4 separate regions of the Homo sapiens genome follow, and regions 2, 3 and 4 are each linked to region 1. The links are contacts of gene promoters, found by promoter capture Hi-C in blood cells and fetal thymus (Javierre and others, 2016). All regions are on one chromosome and are shown on one strand. Each heading gives the region's core, a stretch centred on a gene start or on the middle of the fragment in contact. The rest is flanking DNA. Distances are from core to core; before and after follow the strand shown. Region 1 holds the start of SLC29A3 (solute carrier family 29 member 3). Region 2 has its middle 38 kb from the start of LINC03139. Region 3 holds the start of PSAP (prosaposin). Region 4 overlaps PSAP (prosaposin).

What was found. The method cuts DNA at HindIII sites, captures the fragments that hold promoters and counts their contacts. A CHiCAGO score of 5 or more calls a contact.
Region 2: a contact is called between a fragment that was not itself captured here and the fragment with the promoter of SLC29A3 in region 1, in 2 of 17 cell types (naive B cells and total B cells). The highest score is 6.6, in naive B cells.
Region 3: the fragment with the promoter of PSAP here is called in contact with the fragment with the promoter of SLC29A3 in region 1 in 4 of 17 cell types (total CD8 T cells, naive CD4 T cells, naive B cells and 1 more); the score reaches 6.1 in total CD8 T cells.
Region 4: a contact is called between a fragment that was not itself captured here and the fragment with the promoter of SLC29A3 in region 1, in 5 of 17 cell types (total CD4 T cells, total B cells, total CD8 T cells and 2 more). The highest score is 7.1, in total CD4 T cells.

Annotation. Positions count from the first base shown.
Region 1 is chr10:71,317,764-71,320,911 of GRCh38, forward strand. SLC29A3 (solute carrier family 29 member 3) reads left to right here and starts at 1,496. Exons shown (of 6, transcript NM_018344.6): 1 at 1,496-1,547. The coding sequence starts at 1,547. It overlaps LOC124902445 (a long non-coding RNA gene), which reads right to left and starts at 1,900. Exons shown (of 2, transcript XR_007062183.1): 1 at 1,799-1,900; 2 at 206-1,141. RefSeq lists a silencer at 1,293-1,742. The HindIII fragment of the contact is 7,819 bases long and covers 1-3,148 here.
Region 2 is chr10:71,914,075-71,917,222 of GRCh38, forward strand. No RefSeq gene overlaps it. Among named protein-coding and RNA genes, the nearest start is that of LINC03139, 38 kb to the left of the region's middle. The HindIII fragment of the contact is 1,385 bases long and covers 979-2,363 here.
Region 3 is chr10:71,849,758-71,852,905 of GRCh38, forward strand. It overlaps PSAP (prosaposin), which reads right to left and starts at 1,494. Exons shown (of 14, transcript NM_002778.4): 1 at 1,425-1,494. The coding sequence starts at 1,464. RefSeq lists enhancers at 1-252, 644-1,174, 1,175-1,705. The HindIII fragment of the contact is 9,568 bases long and covers 1-3,148 here.
Region 4 is chr10:71,829,732-71,832,879 of GRCh38, forward strand. PSAP (prosaposin) reads right to left here. Exons shown (of 14, transcript NM_002778.4): 3 at 2,115-2,189; 4 at 1,395-1,520. Among named protein-coding and RNA genes, the nearest start is that of PSAP, 20 kb to the right of the region's middle. The HindIII fragment of the contact is 4,261 bases long and covers 1-3,148 here.

The DNA of each region.
Region 1 (3,148 bases), core at 246-2,745:
AGTCCTAAGCCGACCCTGGGTTTCAGAGAGGTTTAGTAATTTTACCATTATCCCTCAGCTTGTAAGCCTGGAGCTAAGCCCCTTCCTCTCCTGGGCCGGGGGGCTTTCTGACAATTTAGGGTGCTAGTCTCCAAACTCGCCTGCTGGTGGAGCTTGTTAAATAGATCCATTCTGGATCCCCATTCTGCACCCCCTGAGTGATGGGTTGTATTAATCCAGGTATTTATTGAACACAAATTATGTGCCCACGATGAGGGAAGAGCAAACAAAGCAGATACAGCACCACCCTCAGGGATTGGGGAGTGGCAGCAACCCTCCTGGGGAGAGGTCCCCAGAATCTGGATGTGTACTCGAGACTTTTATGATCAGGCCAGTGTTTGGGGAATGGTGGTTATAAAATGAGAGGCTGGGGCAGGGAGTGGGGATGTTCTGAGAACCTGTCCACACACTGACAGCCTCAATGGGTTCTGTGGCACCCCTGAGCCCTGGGATGGCAACTGCAAGAATTTACTATCCATGGTCACAGATCTTCAGGCCCTGTGAAGCATCCAGATCCCCGCTCTGAATAGGCCAACTGGGCCAGGACCGGGAGTCAGGAAGGTTTCCGCCTTTTTTTTTTTTTTTTTTTTTTTGAGATGGAGTCTTGCTCTGTCGCCCAGGCTCCAGGCTGGAGTGCAGTGGCACCATCTCGGTTCACTGAAATCTCCGCCTCCCGGGTTCAAGCGATTCTCCTGCCTCAGCCTCCCACATAGCTGGGATCACTGGCACGCACCACCATGCCCGGCTACTTTTGTATTTTCAGTAGAGACGAGGTTTCGCCATGTTGGCCAGGCTGGTCTCAAACTCCCGACCTCAGGTGATCCGCCTGCTTCGGCCTCCCAAAGTGCTGGGATTACAGGCGTGAGCCACCGCGCCCGGCCCCTGCTTTCTTAAAGAACACGCGGCAGCTGTGTGTTACACGCTATGGCTGAGGTCAAGTGTGAGGGCTGGAATTGCTGACTGCCATGTTCTGGGTCTACTGAAAATAGCTGCCTGGCCTGGGAGGCCCAGTTCAGTCCGGGTGTGGGTCCCGCTTCACCTCCAGAGCAGCGGCAGCCGGTAAGGGTAGAAGCGGCCTTTGGAGAGGGGTCTCTGCAGCGGCCTGGGGACAAGATGAGGGCTCCTTTGAGTCCTGGGGTGCAGGTTATAGTAGCTAAAGGGGAGGTCTGAGACAGTGGGGTCTGGCTCCAAGGTAAAGAAGGAGCAGCAACCAAAAGGCCTGATGCGCAGCGCACCCATCGCAAGCATGGGCAGTGCGTTTAAGACTGGGTGACTCACTTTTTCTCCTATAAAATGGGCGCACGCAGGCCCCAGCTCAGCGCCAGAAGGGGGAGCCCCGGCGCGCCGGCAGAAGACAAAGGAAAAAAGCGTGTTTGCAAACGGGGAAGCGGCGGCGTGCTGCCGCGAGGGGCGGGGCGGGGCCGGGGGAGGAGCCCGCCTGCCGCCTGCCAAGCCCAGTGGTCCTGGCCGTGCGCCGGAGGCAGCGGCGGCGTGGCGCAGCGGCGACAGTAAGTGCGGGCCGGCTCGGGCTCTTCCGGCTACGGTCCCGGCCGCCCCCAGACTCGCGCTCAGCGACCTCCCTCCCGGGCCCTGGGGGCGGCTGCGGGCTGCCAGGGGAGCCGCAGGACCCTACCCCATCCGTGGTCCCTTCCCCACCGTCCCTCCTCTCTCTCCTTGCTCTCTGCCACCCCTCTTTCTGGGTCTCTATCTTCTCTTCCCCAAATCCTCTCCCCTCCTCCTCCCTGAGACTGGACCTCACCGCCTGTATGGTGGGGGCCTGGTATGGACCCGTCGGCCCGAAGTATCCAGACGGTGGCTGATTCTCTCGGTCCCAGCTGCGGGGCCTGAGGCTGGGGCTGTTTACACCGCAAAGCCGGTTCTGCCGCGGCCAGTAGGCGGTGCCCTGCGCTTCCCAGTGCCTTCCCACAGGTTAGCCCTACCAGCTCCCCACCCCGGTTCACAGCCCAGGAGATCGAGGCACAGAGGGGCGAGCCACCTAGCCAGAGTCAGGAACCTCCTTGGAACCAGCACCCAGGCTTCCCAGCCCAGATGAGGTTTTGCCGCGGCCCCAGCAGTGCCTGCCTCCTTGTGTGGGGCTGTCTGTCTGTGCATGGCCGGGCTCCCGCAGGTGACCCAGGAGCACGTTCCAGGCCACAGCCAGCTTGTTTTGGGGAAGGTTGGGCACTTCCTTGCCTGCCTTTCTCTTTATTTTTTAATCCAGAAGCCAGCAGCTAGCTTTTATAAAGACTAATAAGACTTTGCTCACTCCAGTGCCCTGGCCTGTGACCCTGGTTAGAGAAAATTCCTGGCTCCTTCTTCAGAAGCTCAGTCAAGCCTTGACAAATAGACGCTAGGAACTGAGAAGGGGGCCCTAGCCAGGTGTGGTCCTGAGTGACAGGGCTGGTGGACCTTCTAGCCGCCCCCACAGGTAGCTGGAGCCTCTGGAAAGAACCACTTGCCGGTTCTCTCTTGTTCTATGTGGGTGGGTCATGATTATTTTTTACATTTTAAACACTAATTTTTAAAATGTAACAAGTGAGCTTGTTACATTTGTACCATTTTGTGCCAGACAAAATAGCATAGACTGGGTGGCTTAAACAAAATTTGTTTCTCATGGATCTGGAGGCTGGGAAGGGCAAGATCAAGGTGCTGGTTGATTTGGTTTCTGATGAGGGCTCTCTTCCTGGCTTGCAGACAGCCTCCTTCTTGCTGTGCCTTCACATGGCTTTTCCTCTATGAGTGGGTGCATGTGGAAAAAGCGATTTTCCACACAGTGAGCTTCCAGACAGTGAGCTTGTTAATGCTGGCCTCCATGCGAATCCAGGCTGGGGAGGGGCTCTGCTAACCAGGGGAGTTTAAAATAGACTTGCTGGCTGGATGCATTGCACTTGGGCATCCAGTGGCCCCCCACCTGCTGGCTCCAGGGTACATGCTACCCCAGCAGGGGAGAATGTCCTGGTCGTGCAGAGTCCGTTCATTCAGCAAACATTGACAAGGGTGCCTGCAGTGTGCCTGGGCCCCTCCCGACTCACTGGCTTCAAGGCTTGCAGGAAGGATGCCTGTACTTGGAACCAGCAGACACAGATTCCCATTCCCAGCCAGTCCTCCC
Region 2 (3,148 bases), core at 421-2,920, 600 kb after region 1:
TCAGCAATACATGGATGTCTTTCAGGGTCCAGGTTTATAGATCTACATTGTCCTTTTTAATAGCTACATAGTTTTCCATAGATAATTTATTTTCATAGTTCCAGTTCAGTACACAAACAATACCGTGTAAAACACTTTGTGCAGTTCTTTTTTTATTACTTATTTATTTATTAATAGAGACAGGGTCTCACTATCTTGTCCAGGCTGGTCTTGAACTCCTGGCCTTGGGCAATCCTCCCACCTCAGCCTCCCAAAGTGCTGGGAATACAGACATGAGCCACCATGCCCAGCCCCTTTGTGCATCTTTGTGCACTTCACCAGTTATCTCTGAGGACAAATTTCTAGAAATGAAATTGCTGTGTCCAAGGCATGCCTCCATGACACCCCGTCAACTTTTTGAGAGTCTTTTGAGACCCTCTTCAGTAAGCAAAAGAAAAACATAAATATTTTCTACCCACCTCTGGCCCCAGTCACCCAATTCCCCTTCCTGGAAGCAACTAGCATATTAATTTCTATATAATTCTTCTGGGCATAATCCATGCTTCTATATAAAAAGATAGTAATATATTTCTCCCAATCCATTTCACACAATGGTAGCCAGCTCTGAACACAATTCTGCCCTTCTGGCACATTCTACTTGTTTTGTTTCAGACACAGGGTATCTCTGTCACCCAGACTAGAGTGCAGTGACGTGATCTCGGCTCACCTCAGCCTCGACCTCCCAGGCTCAAGCGATCCTCCTACCTCAGCCTTCCAAGTACAAACTACAAACAGGAGCCACCACATCTGGTTAATGTTTTTTCGTGTAGAGAGGGGGTCTCCCTCTGTTGCCACCTCCTAAAATGCTAGGACTACAGGCGCGAGCCACCATGCCTGGCCCTTCTAGCACACTTTAATTTTTTTTTTCCTGGTATTTTCACAAAGATGGAATGGCATATTTTAAAAGTAAAGATACTAAGAATAAAACACAATATTGTAAGCTTTATAAATGGGCCCCAAAATATTTTCCCAAGATGTTTTTTAATTAGTCCCCAAAGATGGAAGAAAAGAGAAGTAACTAATGTTAACATGTTATATCCTCTATCTTTGATTGTCTGTGGACAAGTGACTGTCAATGGCAGAGACGCAGGACAGAGGGAGAGGCGTGACCCTGCCACCCATGTCCTGCTAAGGCCACGTCTGTAGCCAGCCCTGTTCTCCAAGAGGAGATGCCCCTTCACCTCCCAACCTTGGCCAGGGCTTATTTTTATCCACCCCAATCACCAGCTAGCCTGGCAGCCCTATAATTTGGGAGTCTGGCCACCCCTGTACTATATAATTCCCTGGCAGACCTTCAGACCTTAGGTTGGCCCCTTTGACTTGCATTTTGGTGATGCTCTGTGGCCAGAAGTCTCTTCGGCAAATTAGGGGTCAGAACTTGGTGCAGTGGAGTCAAAATGGGGGAGGGAGTCTGGGGCCTTTGGATTTTTTGCAATCGTCTCACTTCCACCATCAAATTGCATCTGGCCGTCCTGGAAATATGAGTGTACCACCACTTCTCAAAGGAGACCAGTTGGTGCTGAGAGTGGGGCTTGCTATAAAAAGGTGAGGCCGGATCAGGCGTGGTGGCCTGTAATCCTAGTACTTTGGGAGGCCAAGACAGGTGAATTACTGGAGGTCAAGAGTTCGAGACCAGCCTGACCAACATGGAGGAACCCTGTCTCTACTAAAAATATGAAAATTAGCCGGGCATGGTGGCACACACCTGTAATCCCAGGAACTCAGGAGGCTGAGGCAGGAGAGCCACTTGAACCAGGGAGATGGAGGTTGCAGTAAGCCAAGATCGTACCACTGCACTCCAGCCTGGGTGACAGAGCAAGACTCTGTCTCAAAAAAAAAAAAAAAAAACCTGAGGCTGGAGGAGCAGCATGGGGGGCCGGTGGCTCAGGTGCTGAGGCAGCCTTCAGTAAAGCCCATCCCTGTTTCTTGGGCACCATCACTTTAGAGAGGCAGAATTCCTCTGCAGCCTGTCTTAGATTGATCATGTGGCTACATGCTGTCATGCCTCAAGGAAGACACTAGGGGTCCTTTATATGCCTGTCAAGGTTGTTTCACTAAAACTCAGCTTCCATCCTACCTCTCCTCCAGAATCCACAAAATAAAGCCCTAGCTCCTTAGGAAGAAGGGAATCTAGTATGTGTTAAATTGAAATGGAGGTCAGGCCTGAAGAATCCCCGAGCAGATAAAACCAGTTCGGCATCATAAATGATCTAAGCCTTGCTTGATTTACAAACATAAGTAAAACTGAACTTAAGCTATTTCTTGTAAATGCTTATATTAAAGAAAAACAGAAGTTGAACTTAACCAATCAGAAGCAGCCAACAAGCTTATAAGGCTGAGGCAGACGGATCACCTGAGGTCAGGAGTTCAAGAACAACCTGGCTAACATGGTGAAACCCTGTCTCTACTAAAAATACAAAATTAGCCGGGTGTGATGGTGCATGCCTGTAATCCCAGCCCCTACCTGGGAGGCTGAGGTAGGAGAACTGCTTGAACCCAGGAGGCAGAATTTTCAGTGAGCCGAGATCATACCACTGCACTTCAGCCTGGGCAACAGAACTTGACTCTGTCTCAAAAAAAAAAAAAAAAAAAAGGAAAAAAAAGAAAGTGACATTCTTTACTTACCACAGGTCAGGAACCCTGCAAATGGACTGTGTAGACAAGATATGAGGCCAGTTTTCCCAAGGGGCTTTTATTGACTTTATAAGTCAAATTTGATTCCTTAAAGGAAAGCACACCATTCCAGTCAAAGCCTTGGTAAAATAATCAATTTATCAAATTGTGTCCTGTTGCAAAAGAAAACAGATTCTTATTGCACTTGTGTAAATTACTATTTTGCCATAAATTAAGAATACTCACAAATAGCTTCCAAATTTTGGAGAAATCAGGTATGTTCCAAATTTTGTTCACAGGGATATATTTTATTCAATTGCTACAAGCTGTAAATAGCTTAAAAGTTTTCTTGACTCTGAAAAATAAAACAAAGGATCAGCAATGTTTTAACCAAAAAGTCAGAAAGATTATTCCATGCTATTAACTCCTGTTCTGCTTGGTATTCATGAACATTTCAGCTGTACATGAGAGTCCTGAATGTTTTTTCTCTATTCTA
Region 3 (3,148 bases), core at 244-2,743, 530 kb after region 1:
CTCGGTGTCCCAATGTGCTGGGATTACAGGCATAAGCCACCGCACCCAGATGCAAGACATTTCAAAGCAAGTGAAATGAGGACCCCATGGCAAAATAACTGGACCAGAAAACCCTATATCGCCTTCAATACCTATGAGAATTAAGCTCCGATTTTTTTTAGCTTGCCCAAATTCCTATCTAAGGGGTGTAGGAATCATACCCTACAAACCATAAACTCTCATCAGATGGGTTTTATTTGACCCCATATATCGTGACTTACTTTCCAATCTGACTCTGGCATAACATTTTATAAGACAAGGAAAAAAAAATCAAAATATCTAACCCCAAAATATATTTCCTTGCCATACCTTGAAATTGCCCTGCAAAGTCTCTTGTGGGAAAAATCCACATTCTATAGAGAATCCCCTTTCCCCTATGTTTTCCTTCCTTCCTCTCCAGATCCAGGAGATAATCAACTAAGAGCCAGTCACCCTTTCATTTCCATAGAAATATTTTACAACGTGCTCGCTCTCTTAGTCGGCTACCTGAGAGCTTCCTCTGCACAATAAAACTTGGTCTCCACAATCCTTTATCTTAACTTGAATACTTTCTTTCTATTGATTCTAGGTTTTCAGATAAACTCAACCAATTATCAACTAGAAAATGTTTAAATTTACCTATGGCCTGGAAGCCCCCCGCCGCTTTGAGTTGTTTCGCCCTTCTGAACCAAACCAACGTATTTCTTAAATGTATTTGATTGATGTCTCGTGCCTCCCGAAAATATGTAAAACCCAGCTGTATCCCAACCACCTTAGGCACATGTTCTCAGGACCTCCTGAGGGCTGTGTCACGGGCCATGGTCACTCATATTTGCCTCAGAATAAATCTCAAAATATTTTTACAGAGTTTGACTCGTTTTGTCAACACCTAGAATCCAGAGTAAATACATATGCAAACGTCAATATAGATGATACACATGTGCTTCCTGCAGCTTCGCTACCCTTACAAACAGGCAACTGAAGCCAACGGCCAAAGTGTCCTGCGGGACGGGGCTCCAGCCCACCTCGATCACGTGCGCCCAGCACAGGCACAACACAGCTGCCCAAGGGGTCACCCTACAAGACTCACCCACCCCCACAGTGGGAAGCGCAGCCTGAGGGAAGGCCTCGGGGCCCCAGCCGCGCAGGAACCCACTCGAGCCCCGAAGGAGATGCTGCCCAGGGCCTGGGCCGTCCTCCCGGGGGCATTTTCGCAGCCCGCCCCCCGCAGCCCCCAGCCGCCCAGAGAAAGCCAGAGAAAGCCAGCGAACGCGCCTGCGCAGTGCGCGCGCCCCCTTGCCAACTAGGGCAGGGGGAGCAGAGGGGCCAGGCCCGGCACAGCCCATTCTGGGGCAGATGGACGCTGCGAGGCACCTCCTCCCCAGGATGAGGGTCCCAGGGCTTACCCGCGCCCAGGAGGCTGGCCAGGAGGAAGAGGGCGTACATAGCGCCGTCTGACTCCGCAGTCTGCAATGCGGAGCGTCAGCTGATCCCCCGCAGATATAAATCTGCCCTGCCCCAAAGCCGTCCAGAGCGCAGGCGCTAACCCCGCCCCATCCGGGCCTGCCCGAGCTCAACAGCGCCCTGACTCAGCGCCTCTGAGGGCGCCTGCGCGAAGGGGAGGCCAATAGGAGGGGGCAATGGGAGGGGCGAAAGGAAGGGCTATGGGGAGGAGTGAGGAAGAACTTGGAGAAAGGGAAGGGAAAGGTCATAAAAGAAAAGCCCTACTAATTGAATAGGTCAGAGATTATATATGTAAAATACCTTTTAAATCTCCACATTGTTGGCCGGCCGCGGTGGCTGACGCCTGTAATCCCAACACTTGGGAGGCCGAGGCGGGCGGAGGGTTCAAGACTAGCCTGGGCAACGTGGTGAAACCCCATCTCTACAAAAAAAAAAATACAAAAAAATTAGCCCATTGTAGTAGCGGGTTTCACATAGAATAGCTTGGGGTTTCACATAGAATAAGTAGTCGTGTAACAGGGTACAGGGCTCAGTCCTGGCCAGGGGCACGTGGGGGCAGGTGGTGGCACCTGGTCAAAGGCAAGTCTGGGCTGGGCATGCTGGCTCACTCCTGTAATCCTAACACTTTGGGAGGCCGAGGCGGGCGGATCATGAGGTCAGGAGTTCAAGACCAGCCTGGCCAATATGGTGAAACCCTGTCTCTACTAAAAATACAAAAATTAGTCAGGCGTGGTGGCGCTCGCCTGTGGTTCCAGCTATTTCAGGAGGCAGAGGCAGGAAAATTGCTTAAACCCGGGAGGTGGAGGTTGCCGTGAGTCAAGATCGCACTACTGCACTGCAGCCTGGACCACAGAGCGAGAGAGATTCCCATCACCAAAAAAAAAAAAACAAAAAACTTTTAAGCCTCACATTGTGGTACCGTTAAAGATGTAATACCATTCCTCACCCATCATAAGAGATCATAAGAGTCACAACCAACACTCCTGTAACGAGACAGCTTAAGAGAAAAGCATAACAAATTTATGTAATCAACGTTTTATGTGACATGGAAGCCTTCAGAAATTAAGACCCAAAGACCCTCTGCCTGTGGCTGCCCCTGCCAGGACCTGAACAGAGAATGATGATGACCCTCTCCAGAAGGATAAGAACCTGCCAACCGCAAGGCAGGGAAAGGAGGGGAATCTTAGCCCCTTAGGGCAGGCACTTAGAGGTCATTTACCTGTAGGGACATTGAGCCTAGGAGAGGGCAAGACGTTTATCCAAGGTCACACAACAGGTAGAGATAGAACCTGGCCCGAAGCCAGGTTTCCTGACCCAGGAAGGGCAAACCTACAGTTCCTCCAACTTCCTCCAATCTGCAATCCGCTCTGGAGAACAACCCCAGGGACTAAGGCCTCAGAACCTTCAGTTCTGCTCCCCTGCAATCTCCCTAAGTGCCCCCAGCCCCCACCACAGCTCTGACTTCCTCTGGGGAGCCAGATGGGGAAGTGTGCCCCATGCACCACAGTGGGCCATGTGAGGCAGCTGAGTGAGTTGGGACAAGATGTGGTCTCAACTGGACGCCTCACAGGTCGGCCTCAGTGGCCAGATGGAGACTTCGTGGCTGCTCCACCTTTGGGCTTCCCAAGGCCAGGCAGAAGCGTGGGGCAGACCACACAACAACTGG
Region 4 (3,148 bases), core at 426-2,925, 510 kb after region 1:
CTCACACCTGTAATCCCAGCACTTTGTGAGGCCGAGGCGGGCGGATCGCCTGAGGTCAGGAGTTCAAGACCACCCTGGCCAATGTGGTAAAACCCCATCTCTACAAAAATACAAAAATTAGCCGGGCATGATGGTGGGTGCCTGTGATCCCAGCTACTTGGGAGGCTGAGATGGGAGAATCACTTGAACCCGGAAGGCAGAGGTGCTGTCAGTCAAGATCGCGCCATTGCACTCCAGGCTGGGCGACAGAGTGAGACTCAGTCTCAAAAAAATAAATAAATAAATAAATAAAGGAATAGGAGCTTCTTGCTGGAGGAGAAGAGTCAGCAATTCTAAGTCACTTCCCCACAAAATGAGCTAACACGATGGCTTTCAACACCTTCCATATGCTGATGGCTCCCAAGTGTTTAACTTCTGTAATCATGCCCACCCTGCAGACATCTCAAACTTACCCCTCATTCTATCCTGCCCAACTAGCTCCATTTTAGCAAATAACTCCACCTTTATCTTCTCAGAAACCAGGGAGACATTTATAGCTCTTCCTCTCCTATACATCCCCCTCATGAGCAAGTCCAGTCCATTTAATCCTCCAAAAGAGAATCTGCATCTGCCATTTCCACTGTCCACATCACATCTCACTCACAAAGCAATGACCTCCTGAGGGTCCTGTCAGCTTCCGGACTTGCAGCTTCCCTCAATGGGACCTAGACCTAGACCAAACCCTTTGACAAATGCCCTTACAATCATGACACTCCAAGGCTGCACTTGCAATCCTTGAAGATGGCCTAGGAGGCTGTGTATGACACAACCCCTGCCTTCCTCACCAGAACCTTGGTCCTGTCTTGGGAAAGTCCTGCCCCACTGGCCCTCTTCAGTTACTTAAACACCTCTTCTTTGTCAAGGCCTTTCCAAATTCCACAAAGCTAGCTCCGTGTTCTTTGCTAAAAACCCAGTCTGTGACACAGGGTTTGTGTCTGTGTACAATACATACTTGATGAATGAAAGACCCCAATACATTCCCTGAATTATTCCTTGATTATAAGTTCACAGAAATAAATTCACAGAAGTGAGGTTTTGTGCCTGCTCAAAGGGGTCAGTTAAAGATTGGACATGATGTATCCAACTCACATCTCTGAAGGTTATGCCGGTTTACATTCCTTCAGCAGTCCGACCAGTCCCCAGCAGCCGCACCCTCGCTAACCCCAGGGCAAGTTACATACAGAGTGGCCTGCTGTGCCAAAGGAGCTATTCTGGATGTCAAATTGTAGCAAAATGCTGTTGAGGAATTCCAGAGCTAAGAACAGACTTTCCATTTTAATCAATCTACTCTGGGCCACTGCCTCTCCTGGGCCCCAGAAGCACCTTCAAGGAAAAGCCTATTCCCCATCACTTACCATTTCTCCTTTAATGATGTCCAGGATGACAGGGAGGTAGGAGTCCACTATCTCCTTGCATGAAGCAGACATGTTCGGTTTCGGAAGCCAGTCACAGGTCTTCTCCAAGTAAACAAGGATCTCCTCCTACGAGAGGACACCAGGGTCAGAATCACGATAGGCTTTCCTCCCTGGAAATAAATGGGCTGAAGGCAAGAGGCCCTCAATAGCTCCCAGAAAAACCAAGCCTGGAAAACAGCCAGCCCTCAGGGAAAAGGACTTGGCCATGTTACCTATGGCTCTATTAGGTCAATCAGGCAAAAGCAGACATGAGCATTCAAAATGAAAATCCCTGGACCTGCAGTCTCGCAGGCACAGGGAATTCTAAGCAGAGATGGCCAAAATGGACCTAGGTATTAGTGGCATGCAATACAACATCTCAATTAACTTTGGGCATTTAGTCCCGGGGTCAGCAAAGTAGGCCCTTCAGCTTATTTCTGTACAACCCAGAACTCAAGGAATGGTGTTTACATTCTTTTTACATTTTTAAAAAGAGACTGTGTGACAGGGACAGTATACGGCTCATATACCCTAAAATCTTTTCTCCTTGATCCTTTGTGGAAGACATTTGCCACCCTCAGGCCTACACCATTCCTCTTTAGACACCCGGAATCACAGCTCTCTTAGGAACCAGTGCACGTGCCCGTGGCTCAAGCACCATCCCCACTCACCGCCGCTCACCTCAGTGGCATTGTCCTTCAGCATATCACCAGCTGCGGTGACAACGTCTTTGCATATGTCGCAGGGAAGGGATTTCTAAGAGAAAGAATACGAGAAATTTGTATTTGCAGGACACAAATTCACACCCCACACAGCTGGAACTCCCCATGGCCTTTTCGCTATTCTCTCTAACCAGGGATATGATCATGACCGCGCTCCTGTCACATCCTGGTTCTCCACCCTGCATGAGCAGCGCTGGGGCACGGCAGGGAGGGAAGAGGTGTGACTCACCAGAACACACTGTGAGTTACAGGACACAGAACCTTTGCTCATACCCACACAGCACCCCATGTGGCACAGGTCAATTTCACATCAATGCTCACAACACCTCTGAGGAAACTGAGGCTCAGGTGAAATCAGAGTCACATCAGTATGGCAGAGAGGTGGGTGGGACAGAGAAACAAACGCCCCACCCACCTCTGAAGGCACACCCACACTGAACCGTTCACCTGCGCATCCCCTGCCTCCCAGGCATGTTAACAAGGCAAGACCACACCAAAGCCAATCTTCTGATTGGCACCAAGGCCCCCACCTGGACCAGAGGCCATGGAAATTCTAATTGGTTCCTGCGGCCCTTGGGGAAGAATGCCCAGGCTCCCTTCTTGATGTCAACTGACTTTCCATCCATGGAGAAGAAACATGTCTGGGTGAGACTGAGGAACACCTATGAACTTAGCTGCATTTAGAGAAACCAACTTGAACCTAGTCAGGCTAATACAGTCATCCTTTGGTATCTGAGGGGGTATCAATTCCAGGACCCCCATGGACACCCAAACCCCAGGATGCTCAAGTTCCACAGACAGCCCTCAACATTTGTGGAAACAGAGGGTCAAGGGTACTGTGCATGGAACCATATCAAGAGAGGGCCGGGCCGGGCGTGGTGGCTCACTTGGGAGGCCGAGGCGGGCAGATCACGAGGTCAGGAGTTCGAGACCAGCCTGACCAGCATGTTGAAAACCCCATCTCTACTAAAAATACAAAAATTAGCCGGGCAT